Linked DNA regions of Homo sapiens: region 2 is linked to region 1. Evidence: promoter capture Hi-C in human tissues and cell types (Jung and others, 2019). All regions are on one chromosome and are shown on one strand. The core of a region is centred on a gene start or on the middle of the fragment in contact, and the rest is flanking DNA. Distances in the headings are between cores, read along the strand shown.

What was found. The method cuts DNA at HindIII sites, captures the fragments that hold promoters and counts their contacts. A contact is called where the count stands out against the background at its distance.
Region 2: a fragment that was not itself captured here is called in contact with the fragment with the promoter of TNP2 in region 1 in 2 of the 25 tissues and cell types used here (liver and thymus).

The regions. Positions count from the first base shown.
Region 1 is chr16:11,266,994-11,273,811 of GRCh38, forward strand. TNP2 (transition protein 2) reads right to left here and starts at 2,332. Exons shown (of 2, transcript NM_005425.5): 1 at 1,870-2,332; 2 at 864-1,019. The coding sequence starts at 2,269. The coding sequence ends at 1,003. The region is part of intron 1 of LOC105371082 (a long non-coding RNA gene); the gene reads left to right. It overlaps PRM3 (protamine 3), which reads right to left and starts at 6,636. Exons shown (of 1, transcript NM_021247.3): 1 at 6,206-6,636. The coding sequence starts at 6,602. The coding sequence ends at 6,291. RefSeq lists an enhancer at 5,021-5,717. The HindIII fragment of the contact is 5,287 bases long and covers 1-4,769 here.
Region 2 is chr16:11,201,863-11,208,680 of GRCh38, forward strand. No RefSeq gene overlaps it. Among named protein-coding and RNA genes, the nearest start is that of SOCS1, 51 kb to the right of the region's middle. RefSeq lists enhancers at 1-601, 594-1,390, 1,424-1,503, 4,317-4,456, 4,777-4,866 and 1 more. The HindIII fragment of the contact is 3,672 bases long and covers 1,428-5,099 here.

The DNA.
Region 1 (6,818 bases), core at 1,082-3,581:
AGTGAGCCATGATTGCATCACTAAACGCCAGCCTGGGTGACAGAGTGAGATGGTCTCAGAGAAAAAAGCACACACCAGACTCTATCAACTCACCCAGTTGAGACCCTCCCCTGACTTCTCACACCAAGAATAATGTCCAAGCTCCTTCCTGCGGAGATTGGTACAACCCCGGCATGGTCTGGCCCCCACCTGGTGCCCCCAGCTCATGTCCCAGCACCTTCAGATTCTATGCCAGCTCCTCTGGAACACAGGTTCTAACCCAGGCTCATTCCCTCACGGGGACATGACATCACCCTGCTCCCTTGATACAGCTCATTCTGACAAGTCTTGTGTGTTTGGACTGTAAGTTCCATGAGGGCAGGGCCTTGTGTGTTCTCTAGTTCTGTTCCCAGAGCCCAGCACAGTCCCTGAACAGACTTTGGTCCCTTAGTAAAAGTTTGTTGAAATGGCTGCTTTGAGGAACGTTGAGGTTGGTACTATGTTACAGAATCAACAAGTGAGACTCAGAGGTTGGTCACAGTCCAGGGTCACACAGCGAGTACGAAAGATGAGCCAGGATTCAAACTCAGGATGCTCTGGATTGCAAAAGGCACATTCTGAACCCCTCTTCCTGTCTCCTGTCGTGTTCTTGGGCTACATACATGTGGATCACGTGAATAGGTTGTGGACATGTGTGCATCTTGTGTGTCCACATGTGTACACACCCATGTGGGAGCATACAGGGCAAAAGATTGTTATCCAAGCAGAGTGGACTCTGCAGGCTTCTTGGCATCCTACCCCCATTCATTTCTGCCCCTGTGCAGGCCCCCAAAACACATAACACCTTTATTAGTGAAATCAAAATGACTATGACTACTCAGGGATAGTCTTCCAGGTACAAGCTTTAATTAGTGTTGCGTAGAAATCACCATAGTAACATGTTCCTGCAAGAAGATTGACTTCATCCTAGCATTTTCTCCTTTGGGTGAAACACGCAGGAACAAGCCAAGGAGTGCGGTCTCATTAGTTGGATTTCCATCCTAAGGGATAAGAGTGGGAAAGGAACCTTTAATAGCTGAGCACTTCATGAAGTCAGTGACCTCCTTGACCTCCTGTAAGGTCTTACAACTACTCATTTGTGATTGAATATGGGACATAGATAGAGTTTAGACTACCGTCAGTGTCCTTTTGACCTATGTGAATCCAGGTATCCATCCATTTATCCCTTCCATTTGTCATCCACCCATTCATTAGTTCACTCATTCCATTCATTTATTCAACATTTCTTTCCCATTCTATCCCATTAGTCTAGATATCTATTCTTCTCTCTGTTTATTCAATTACTCTATATTACTCTATTAAGATAATATTTAACCAATCAAACCAACCCATCAAAACTTCTACAACTATTTAACTCTATTTCTAACCAATTCATCCACCAACCACAATCTTCAAACTGATCATCTACCTAACCAACCAAATAACTAGCCAGCCAGTGCATTCATCCATTTATCCATCCATCCAGCTAATCGTATCCAAACTTCCTATCATTCAGCCAATGCATTCTTCCAACTATCCTTTCTATAACCTATTTATTGTTTACCCACCCAGTCATCCACCCAACCTCTCAACTCCATTCATGCTTTCATCTAGCTTATCTGCTATCTGTCCATCTTTCCATCCTCCTAATCAACCCATCCAATTTCAAAGAGACTTTCCGTCAATGTATCATACATTCAGCTAGCCAACTGCCATTGTTTCTCTTCTCCCTCTTCCTTCTTGCCTGTGGTTCCTTTGTGACCTGGCTGCAGCCTTCCTCTCACTGCCCCCAAGGTCTGCTCTCCATCATCTGTGGGCTCGGTGGCCCTTCCCCACCTCCTTAAAGGGTACCTGAGCTCCGCGTCTTGGTTTTGTACACCTGCTGGATCCTCTTGGCCATTTTTTTCTTTTTCAGCTTGCCTTCCAAGTTCTTTCTGTTCTTGGGGCAGCGGCAGTGCAGGATGGTGGGCCGCATGGGAGAGTGGTGGGAGTTCATAGTCTTTTTGTGGCGCTTTGGTGGTGGACTAGTGTTGGGACTCTGGCTCTGGTGGCCGGATGAGCTGTGGGCTCCAGTTGGGTTGCGGTGGCTGGCCGGGCTCTGGCTGGAGCTCTGGCTCCGGCTGCCACGATGGCTCTGTCTGCAACTCTGGCTGAAGGTTTGGCAATGGCGGGTGCAGGTGCGGCTTTGGGGCTGAGAGTTGCTATGGAGCTGAGTGTGGGTGATAGGAAGGCTGTGAGTCTGGGTGTCCATAGGAGGCCACGTTTGGAGGGGCAGGGCCTCCTCCTCATCCTCTCCCAGCAGGCCTAGCTTTACAGAGGCCCTGGCAGCCCACCTGGTTATATAGTTGGGGCTGATTATGATGGCCCAGGCCACAGGGGTGTGAGAGATGTGGCTCAGCCAAGACAAAGCCCCCTACCCCTTACCCTCACCCCCAGGCTGGGGCAGCTCTCAGGGGTACCCTGGGGATAGTCCCAGCTACTGGTTCAGGGTAGGAGCCCTTGGGTCAGATTAAGCTGAGTCTGCATCCCAGATCTGCTTTTTCCACATGGTCAGCCCTGGGAATTCGCCTGAACAAGTCCCAGTTTCCCCATCTCTGCAGAATAGGGATAATAATTGTACTGACCTCATTCGGACATTAGAAGAATTATTAATAAAGGAGAGAATTTATATCAAGCAGTTAGCTCAGGCCCAGCCCACAATAAGAGCTCAGTAAACATCACTGACCAGCATCATCAGGTGTTTTTCTTAACGCCCTGGGCAACTTGGGTACCAGGAGTGCAGCCCTGACCCTGGTGATGGCAGCTGAATGGTGGGCAGTTGTTAAGACAGATGATTAGTGCCCAGATGATGGGGAGGTGATGAATTGGTCAGATGGCTTGGTGGATGGATGAAAGATGAGTAACCACATGGACCAAGGGGTGGTCCTGGGGCTCGCTTGGCAAGCCTACCTCCCCAGCCAGATCTAAAGTCGGGAAATTCAGAGCCGGGTTCAAATCCCAGTTTGCACTGATGTCCAGTCTTGGGTAGGCCATTGTGGTTTCTGAGGCTTAATTGCCGTATGTGACAAAGGGGTGTCTTTCCTTCTTTCCTGGTATTCTCGTGAGCCTGAGATGCCTGTCAAGCTACAGGAGGCCCTTGGAAACCCGTCTCTCTCCTTCAGTTTCTGCCTCTTGATTCTCCTCCCCTTCCTGCTAACGAAGCCTCGCCATACCGTTTGAATCACGCCGTCCCTGCTCAGATACCCCAGTACCTCTAGAAGAAAGCCCAGACTTATGTTTGAACACTAAGCCATTTGATCTTCTAGTCTTTGGGTTTCCATCCAGAGCCCTCCACCCCTCCCTGTCTTGGCCGATGCCTTTGGGCTTAGCCCTTGGCCCTGTACTTTCCCACTTCTCTCTGCATGGAACTTCCTCTGTCTCTGTCTGTCCTCCCCGAGCAGGCCTCCGGCCCAAGCCAACCTCTCACTCTGCCCATGTGCAACTTTGCCTCTTGCTATGAGGATTTGCAATCGTCTGCTTTTATGGAAGTTTTTTTCTTTTTCTTTTTCTTTTGAGAAAGGGTTTTGCTGTGTTGCCTAGGCTAGAGTGCAGTGGCACAATTACAGCTCACTGCAGCCTCCACCTCCTGGACTCAAACGATCCTCCCACCTCAGCCTCCCAAGTAGCTGTGACTACAGGTGCATGCCACCACACCTGTCTAATTTTTTTATTTTTATTTTTGTAGAGATGGGGTCTCACTTTGTTGCTTAGGTGGGTCTTGAACTCATGAGCTCAAGGTTTTCTCCTGCTTTGGCCTCCCAAAGTGCTGGCACTACAGGCATGAGCCAATATGCCCAGCCTTTGCAGTTTATTTCTTAATAAACATTTCAAATTTCTTACAGTGAGAACTGCTTTCATTTACTGAATGCTTTCTATGTGGCTGGGCTCTGGACCTTACCCTCTCCAGGCAGCTTTGCCCTCAAACCTCACAGTGACCCTTTGTAGTGGAATGAATGGCAACCCCCAAAAATCTATGTCCACGTTATAACTCCTAGAACTTGTCAATGTGATATTTGGAAAAGGGGTCTTTGCAGATGTAATTAAGCTAAGAATCTTGAGATAAGCATGTTGGCTTAGCTGGTGGGCCCTAAATCCAATGATAAATGTCTTTATGAGAGACAGAAGAGGTGTCACCCAGGGAGAAGAGGAAACCATGGGAAGATGGAGACGAGCTTGGAGTTGTATGAGCTAGAGGAGGCAAGGAAGGATTCTCTGCTAAGGCCTCCGGAGGGAGATCAGCCCAGCTGGCACCTCGACTTCAGACTTCTGGCCTCCAGAACTGCAGAGAATACATTTCTGTTGTTTTAGCCACCAAGTTTGTGGTCATTTGGTATGGCAGCCCCAAGAAACTTATGCACCCCATGAGGCAGATACTATGATTACATTTAGCAAAGAGGGAACAGGCTCAGAGAGGTGGAGTAACCAGCCCAGAGTCCCTTAGCCGATCACGGCAGAGCCAGTCATATTCAGGTCTGGCCTCCTCTCGAGGTCACTAAGGGATTCTCGGCGATTAGAGGGACAGCTGCAGCAGGGTTCTCAGGGCCCTGCCTTGGGTGGCCTCAGCAGGTCCGGTTGTGGGGTATATGCTAGACCAAGCCGTGAAGACTCTCTGGGTCTCTGGACCCCCCTTCCCATGGTCTCCTGCTCCTCCACTGCCAACGCCCCACTTTCCCATCCTGAAGCACATAGCCTGGAATGGAGATCGTGGCCTGCCATCAACCAGCCTCTCCTCCACACACCTTTCCAGTCCTCCCAGGGAGGGCTGACCTCTCCCAGCAGCGGGTGTGCGGCACGTCACGTACCTGCCCCCGCACCCATGACAGTGAACTCTCTCCCAGGACAGCGGGGACTATGTTTTATTACCAGGGCTCCTTGTGACTAGCACCATGTGGGGCATACAACAGGGACTCAGCTCATGTTTCCTGGGCAAATGAATGGGTGGGTGGACCTTTGGGCCTTGGACAAAAGGACAAGGCTGACCAACCGAGTCATTTGTGGGTCTGGGAGTAGTGGGATAACAGGGCCTCCCTTGCCCTAGGCCATTGCCGGGCAGAGCCGTGGCCTCCCCACAGGGTAGCCCAAGGCTCCTTCCTACGTCAAACATGGCCCCCAGAGAAACCGAGGCTTCCCTGAAAATTCCCCATCCCCCAGCCCCACTGCCACGGTACCAACTAGGATCCCCTCGGGAACAGGGGATCAGCTGATCCAGAGAATTAGCTCAAGGTGGCTGGTGCTTGGAGGACTGTGAGGGAATGTGGTGGAGATCGCATTTGTGGCTTCTTTGGGATGGAAGGAGTGAGGGAGGAGCCGGCAGTAGGGTGGGCAGCAGACGCACTCCGAAGCTCCTTGCGGAAGGCGCACCGAGCCCAGAGCGAGAGGATGGGGCCTAGGTTCTGTGTCTGTACCCAGTCGCCTCCCTGGGCCTCTTTTGCCTACTGCTCTCATGGGGTACTGTCTCCGCCCCCAGGGCTAGACCCCTTGAAGAAGGCGGGAGTGAGCTTCCAGGTAGGGGTGCAGGTGGTTGCCAGCAGCATAGACTGGCAGTGGAAGAGTCTGCAGCCAAGAAGGACCTAGAGGAACCACCATGACCCCAGCAACAATCCCTGTCCTAGCTCAGCACTGACTGGTGCCAGGCCTGGTCCCACCCATCACTTGAGCTAATTTTTCTGATCATCTGACCCATGAGTAGCTATTAGCTTCCCCTAAACGCTGGGAGGGGCAGCCTGAGGCTCAAAGACACGCAGTGACTTGCTCAAGGGCACGCAGCTACCAGAAAAGAAGTTTGAACCCAGGTCTGCTGAACTCCCAAGCCAGTGTTCTTAAAAGACGGTCCATAGTTGGGGCAGCACAGTGGGGACTGCGATGAAGGCAGTTACCCTGTCCCGCTGGATGCTCTCGGCTGGGGTGTGCTGGGACTCGCAGAGGAATTTCCCGTCCCAGAGATGGGAAGATTTGGCGGAGATGATTTCCCCCTCTCAAAGCCCCTCAACCTCTGGCTGGGGCTTGGGAACAAGGTCACCGAGCCTTGCTGTTCAGCCTTCCTTGGCAGCTGGCCTCCCTCCGTGTGCACCCACACACACACGCCTTCACACACGTGCACACGTGGGGCCAGAAGGGATAGGGTGAGGGGAACCAGAGACAGGGAGGATTCCTCAGAGACTTTTTATTGACTCTTCTCTGAACACTGTCGCCGGAGCAGCAGTGGGCGTCCCTTCCTGGGCCTTCGTTGCGGGTCAGGAGGGTGTCCGCTTGGGCTCGGGGCTCTGCTGGGCCTCGGCGTTGTCCTTGTGGCCCTCCTCCTGCCGCTCAGGCTCCAGCAGCAGCAGCTTGCCCTGCACCGGCAGCTCTTCTTTCTCCTCCTCTTCCCCCTCCTCCTCCTCTTCCTCCTCTTCCTCGCCCGCTGATGACAAGGAGAAGTTATCCTGACTCACACAGGCCATGAGCTTTTTCATGGAGGATTCGTGGCCCCGGCCATGGCCCGTGCTGTGGCCTGGGCTGTGGCCTGGGCTCTGGCCTGTGTTGAGCTTGGCACAGCGGGAACCCATGGTCTACGTTGCCTGTCTCTCTGGGCAAGGAGGTGAGGCGGTGGGTGAAGGGGCTGCGAGTGGGGGCAGGATGCTGACATCACAAAGGGAGCCCATCCCCACTTGGGAACCTGGGTCTGAGCCAACAGTTAACTCACACCTCAGCCACTGGCAGCTCCCAGCCCCCACAGGGGAGGTCTGCAAGGCTGAGCACTGGGGCCAGTTCGGATGCCACAC
Region 2 (6,818 bases), core at 2,014-4,513, 64 kb before region 1:
GCTCAGGGCCTGCCTCCCAGCACCACAGAGAGGGGACCTGGCCCTGGGGAGGGGAAGGAGGGCAGGAGAGGCCCACCCCCTGAGTCAGCTTCCAGCAGCTCCAGCTCAGAAAAAGTTCAGCGGCCAGGTGACGGACACATGGCGCACACCTGTGACGCCCCCCTTAATCACTCCCCCACATCGTGCCAAGGGGATCGAAGGATTCCCCTGAGTCATCTTCCTGCAGGCCAGCCTGCAGCTCCTGCAGCTCCCGGTTCCTCCCCCTGGCCCGGCAGAGGGTGATTAAGGGCTTTTTGGGGGAAATGACAGTTAAAAGACTCAGCAAGGAGTGTCCAGCCTGGCGAGTCAGGGGCTGTGGGCAGGACTCAGGAAGGGCCCCCTGGCCCCTTCCTGGCCTCAGAGGGAGCCTCGTCCGAGTGGCAGGGCTTGCTGATCCTTGAAGTGGGAGAGGGATAGCCCCATCCACCACAATAAGTAATAGGAATGACAATGAAAAGTTTGTTGGGCCAAATTCTGTGCCCAGGGCTGCTCGTTTGTTTCTTCATTTAGTCCTCAGCTCCCTACCGAAGGCAGCCGTCTGCTGAAACCATAAGAAATTGCTGATTGCCTGTCTGATCTTGACCCACAAAAATGGCAATCTCATGTGTCATTCGATCTAATAGTCCCATTATTCCTATTTTGCAGAAAATCACGGCTCAGAGAGGCTGAGCAGCCTGCAAAGGAGAGCCAGGGATGCTGCCACCCAAGCCTGGGAGAGCCTTGGGGTGCCCAGGCTTGGGGCTGAGGGAGGCTCCTGGTCTGGGAACAGAAGTGCCCAGGGGACACTAGAGCAGAGCTAGGCTGCACCTGCCCCCTGGGGGAAGGGAGGTGGGGCCAACACTGGGGACGCAGGGCTCCCTCCTGGCGATCCCCAGGCTGGGGGAATTTGGTGCTGGGGATTTTGAGCAGTTAGAGGCTGGGTAGGGGCTTTCTTGCCTTCTGGCTGGGGCCCCGTGGGAGTGGGGGAGTTGGGGCTGCATCCATCTGTCCATCCATCCAGGGAGTCTCTCCAGTGGTGGCCGTCACTGGGGCCGTCTGCAGAGCCTCTCTGGGGCATTAATTTAACATGCAAAGGGGAACCCAGGGAGAGGGCAGTGCTGAACCCAGAGGGAGGGGGTGGGTGATGGTGGCATTTTGGGCAGACTTCAGTATGGTTTTCTCCCCAGAGAGTGTCTTTCTAGAACGTCTTTCTAGACTCCTGGGACACTGGTGTAATTGGCCTGTGAGGCCAACCAGCCCCAGATGTTTCTGGGAATTTGGAGACCTGCCCCCTGCAAGGGACTCAGATGCTTTCCGTGGAAGGGGCCAGGGAGGGGAAGAGGCACCAAGGTCTCACTGAACCGTCGTGGTCACTCTGAACATTCATGCCACTTGGCATGAGCCCTTCACTCTCCAGACTGTAAAATCAATACCTGGCCCAAATAGCAACAACAAAGAGCAACAATACCCCTTACCCCATCCACGTGGCACCTCCTGTCTGTCTCCAGGGCGCTGCGCTTCATTAAGCACCACACACCCAAGAGCTCAAGGGAGTCTCATGACTAGGCATCTGCAGGGGCTCCTCTGTTTCTCATCTTTCAGGAAACCAAGGAAAAACAGAGAGGTTGAGTAACTTGTCCAGAGTCACACAGCTCTAAGAAGTAGAGTCACCTACTCCAGAGGCCAAGGCAGGAGGATCAGTTGAGCCCAGGAGTTCGAGGTCAGCCTGGGCAACATAGTGAGACCCCCATCTCTTTAAACACAAAAAAGTGGAGTCAGAAACCAAACCGAAGGACTCTGGACCCTTGTACTCTTGGCTGCACACATCTTACCCTCCTGAAGAAATGTTTGCTGAGATTACAGACTTGGTTAAATTCATGACAGTCCATCTATGCCATGGGGCCATTAAAATAGTGATTTGGAGGCCAGGCGAGGTGGCTCACACCTGTAATCCCAGCACTTTGGGAGGCTAAGGCAGGCAGATCATCTGAGGTCAGGATTTCAAGACCAGCATGGCCAACATGGTGAAACCCTGTCTCTGCTAAACACACAAAAATTAGGCGGGCATAGGCCGGGCGCGGTGGCTCACGCCTGTAATCCCAGAACTTTGGGATGCTGAGGTGGGCGGACCACAAGGTCAGGAGATTGAGACCATCCTGGCTAACACGGTGAAACCCCATCTCTACTAAAAATACAAAAAATTAGCCCAGCGTGGTGGCAGGCACCTGTGGTCCCAGCTACTGGGGAGGCTGAGGCAGGAGAATGGCGTGAACTCGGGAGGTAGAGCTTGCAGTGAGCTGAGACTGCACCACTGCACTCCAGCCTGGGCGACAGAGCAAGACCCCATCTCAAAAAAAAAAAAAAACAGGCGTGGTGGTACATGCCTGTAATCCCAGCTACTGAGGAGGCTGAGGCAGGAGGATCGCTTGAACCCGGGAGACAGAGGTTGCAGTGAGCCACCACTGCACTCCAGCCTGGGCGACAGAATGAGACTCCATCTCAAAATAAAATAAATAAAATAAAATGGTGATTTGGAGTATTGCTTCCCTGGGAAAATGCTCATGGTATGTGTATCCTTAGAGGAAAAAGCAAGTTGTAAGAGTTTGGAAACCATAACCCCATTTTGTTCATTCAAAAATTATTTGCATAGAAAAATGACCAGAAAACAGTTACAAATTACAATGTTGGCAACGATGATGCTGAGGAGGAAGAGCAGGGGCCCATGGAGAAGGACAGGGTCCATACCACCAGGTATGTGCCACCACTTTTTCCTGTGATGCCAGGAAAGGGGGCATCCCCATTGCTAGGGGTCTGAAGACCTGGAGTGAGAGAGAGAATGGCTGTGCCCATGACTGGAGGCTCAGGGCTCTGAGAGGTGGAGTCAGGGGTCTGTGGGGGAGGCAGTGGGTGATCCCTCAACCACGTGGCTTGTCCTTCCCACGCCTGCAGAGAAACATTGGTCACCCTGCCTTTGCCCCAGCTGGCTGCTTTCCTGGGATGTGACCTTTCACGTTGGTGGCCAAACCTGTCCATCCTTGACACTAGCTCAGACATCCCCTCCTCCAGGAAGCCTCCTCAGATGTCACTGGCCAGGCATTTGCCTTCCTTAGTCTTCTGGATCCCTAGTCTAGGACTGAGTGCTTCCTGCCTCCTCACTGCCTCTGACTTCTCTGGGGGGTTGATTTAACACGGCCACGGGGGCTTATTTCCATAACCCCAGCCTCTGCCACAGGAGCCGCTATAGGGTTGAGCTTTACATCCTCTCAGTGGGCTCGTGACCCCGTCATCCACACCTTCCCTTTTATCGGGTCCCTTTCATGTGGTGTCTCATCGACTCCTTACCATAGCCCTAACGGATGGACATCGCTATTCATTCCCATTCTACAGATGCAGAAACTGAGCTTCAGGGAAGCTGAGGAGCTCACCCTGGGTCATACGGCCAGCAAGTGGCACAGTCAAGATCCGAACCCAGGTCAGGCTGTGTCCACAGGGTATCTTGGACAGGGCTAAACTTCCACCACATTGTCTCTTCATATAATGTTGAAATCTGGCTTCTCTTTCAATAGCTGCCCCAACGCGGCCGGAGCACTGGGACTAAGGCAGACGTGAGCGCTAGTATCGCAGTCACCAGCACTGCTACAGCGCCTTCCCTTTTAGTGCCTCCTGTCAACGCTGAGAGGTAGTCACAAGTATCCCCATGGCAGATGTGGGAGGACTGAGGCCCATGAGGTCCAGGGCTCCAGGGGCACCTGGCTCTGATGAGGCTAAACTCAAGCTTGCCCCTTCTCTGCACCCCAAACTCCTGGTTTCTGGACCCAGCTCAGCACGTGGAGCCTTGGGTCACACCCAGCACCCAGTGAACGGCATCCGAGAAACACTCTTCCTGCTGAAAGCCTGGCTTTCTGGAAGGGAGCTGGGGGAAACTGGGAGAGGATGGAGGGGGGCCAGGTAGCAGATAGCCACACTCCTTGCGGCAGGAAGTTCTACACATCATTTCTGGGAACCAGGATAGCTTGGCAGTAACTCGGCGCACTTTGACCCCAATAGAGCACCCAGCTGTCACTGTTGACAGCCCCCCTTCCTTCCCAGGGGATGCTGCTGAGCTGCTTGGAGCCTTCATGTCGGACATCCAGGTGGGCCTGGGGACAGCCTTGGAGCTCCCGGGCCACCTGTCTGGCCACCACCGGATGGAGTGCCCAGATGGGGCTTCTGCCAGCTGTCCAGGAGGCAGCCCAGGCTGGGACATCCAAGCTGAGCCCTGAGCTGGCCTGGCCTGGCCCAGCCCGCACTGATGAGGCAATGTGAGTCCTGTTTCCTGTTACTGTGGCTATGCAAATGGGGGGAAATCAGGGCCTCTCCTGGGGTAGGCTTCCCGGAATGATGGCATTGATTGTCCCAAGAAACCTGGCCCCAGTGGGGCTGCTATGGGAGGGCAGTTGTCAACGGCTAAGATCCCTTTCCTGGTGCATCTCTCCTGCGTGCTGGGCTACATACTGCTGGGAAAAGCTTCTTCAGCCCAGACCTAGGTCATCACTGCATGTCCACTCCCGGACCCACTGCCCATGAGAGCTGGGCTGTGGCTTCCACTTCTTGTCACTGCATCCCCAGCTCCTGGTACATCGTGGGAGTGGGGCGGACAGGACCAGGAAGTGGGTGGCCTCAATGGCTCTCAGCCCCTGGCCTGGAGATCACCACACCCTTCTCTTTACACATAAGGAAACTGAGGACACCAGACTGGGCCAGGGACTTGCCCACGTCTCTCTGCCTCGCCCAGACATGCCGCAGCAGCAGTGGCAAACTTCTGCTTGCCCCCAGAAGCCAGCTGAGTCTTCCAGGTCAAGTCCCTCTCCTGCTCCCCACAGTCCTGTCACACCCCTGGCTGCTCCCCAGGTCAGCCTCTCCTAGGGGTCGTTCTCAGCTCACATCTGACCATGCCACTCCCCTGCCCTGGCACCTAGCCCTCACTCAAAGCCAGGCCTCATAAGCCAGCAGTGATTGGGTACCTTCCACCCTGAGTGGTCTCATCTCTTGACAACTCTGCCTCACACATTACCCCTGGTGATGCCAGAACTCCTTGGAATTCCCCCTTGCACCTCTGTGGCTTTGCAAAGCTGTTGCCTCAGCCTGAGAGGATGCCTCCAACACCTTTCTTTCTCTCTTTATTTTTTTTTTCTGAGACCGAGTCTCACTCTGTCACCCAGGCTGGAGTGCAGTGGCACGATCTCAGCTCACTGCAGCCTCTGCCTCCTGGGTTCAAGCAATTCTTGTGCCTCAGCGTCCCAAGTAGCTGGGATTACAGGCATGTACACCACGCTCAGCTAATTTTTGTATTTTTAGTAGAGATGGGGTCTCGCCATGTTGGCCAGGTTGGTCTCGAACTCCTGACCTTGTGATCCGCCCACCTTGGCCTCCCAGACTGCTAGGATTACAGTTGTGAGCCACTGCACAAGGCCTAACACCTTTGTTTCTATAATTCCTATTTTTTCTCCAACACTCAGCAGTGTCACCTCCAGGAAGCCTTCCCAGATGCCCGCAGCTGGACCAGGTGCCTCCTCTAGGCTCCCTGCATGTCCCCATCACAGCATGTATCACACTGGGCTGTCCTCATGATTTTAGTGCCTGTCTCCTCCACTGCATGGGAGACTCATCACGGAAGCTTGCACAGAGAAGGAGGCAGAGATGTGGAAATGCCCATGGGTGCAAGACACACGCAGGAAGTCGAACCTGTGGACTTGGGGTGCAGCAGAGGGCTGTGTCAAGGACTGAGTGACCAGATATTCGACTGTGCCTCTCCTGAGATGGGGAATGCTGAGGTTTGGGGAGGCACAGAGCCTTAGTCTATGAGCCCTAACTCTCTGAACTCCCACCCCAGAGTTAGGAAACTCCTCCCACATAGGACAATGGGCAAGTAGAGCCCGCCTTCCATGGGAGGAGCCCAAATAGTCCACACCCACTTTCCCTGCCTCCCTTGCAGCTAGGGCATGGCATGTGACTGGACTCTGCCAATCAGAGGCACCTGCTCTGGAGTTTGAATTGGAGGCTTGTCCTGTCCAGGACTCTTTCTGGGGGGAGCCTGGGCCACATGGAGTTCCTGGCAGCTGTGAAGAAGGAGGACTTCACCAGGCTGGCTCTGTGGTAGGAATAGGGGTGACGTCTTGCCTCCCCTTTTCCATGGGATCCTCCTGCCTTCCTGGGAGTTTTGCATACCCCAATATCTGTTTAATACCTTTTCTTCTGCTTGAATGAGCCACATTTGGATTCTGTCACTTGTCACTAAGAATCCTGGAGGCCCCTCTTGGGGGCAACCACTCGGACCAACCTTGAAGGAGGAGCCCATGTTGATGGGAAGGACAGCAAGTGCATTCGGGGTGTGGGAAACAGCTGACCAGGGTCAAGGTCAGGCTTCCGGGACACGACAGGGAGTGTTGGGGATGATGGCTCATCTGGGTCAGATTGTGGGGTTCGGTGGGGACCTGTTGGCAGGGGGTAGATCCAAGGCAGCTGATCCTGAATGCCAGGGCGAGAGCAAGCTTGGATGCCAGCCTGCGGGCAGTGGGACCCAGTGACATACTGTAAGTGGAGGTGGGACGTGGTCAGATTTGGGTTCCAGAAAGCTCAGTCTGCTGCTAGGAGGAAAAGCTAGACCAGATGGGGCAAGACTGGGAGAGTAGGGGACCAGGCAAAAGACTACGGCAATGGTCCCAGCAGACAGTCCTGGAGGCCAGAAAGAAGATCAAGGCAGTGGCAATGAGCAAGGGCAGACCTGGGATTCAGTGTGACTGGCCCTGGGGAGCCATTGA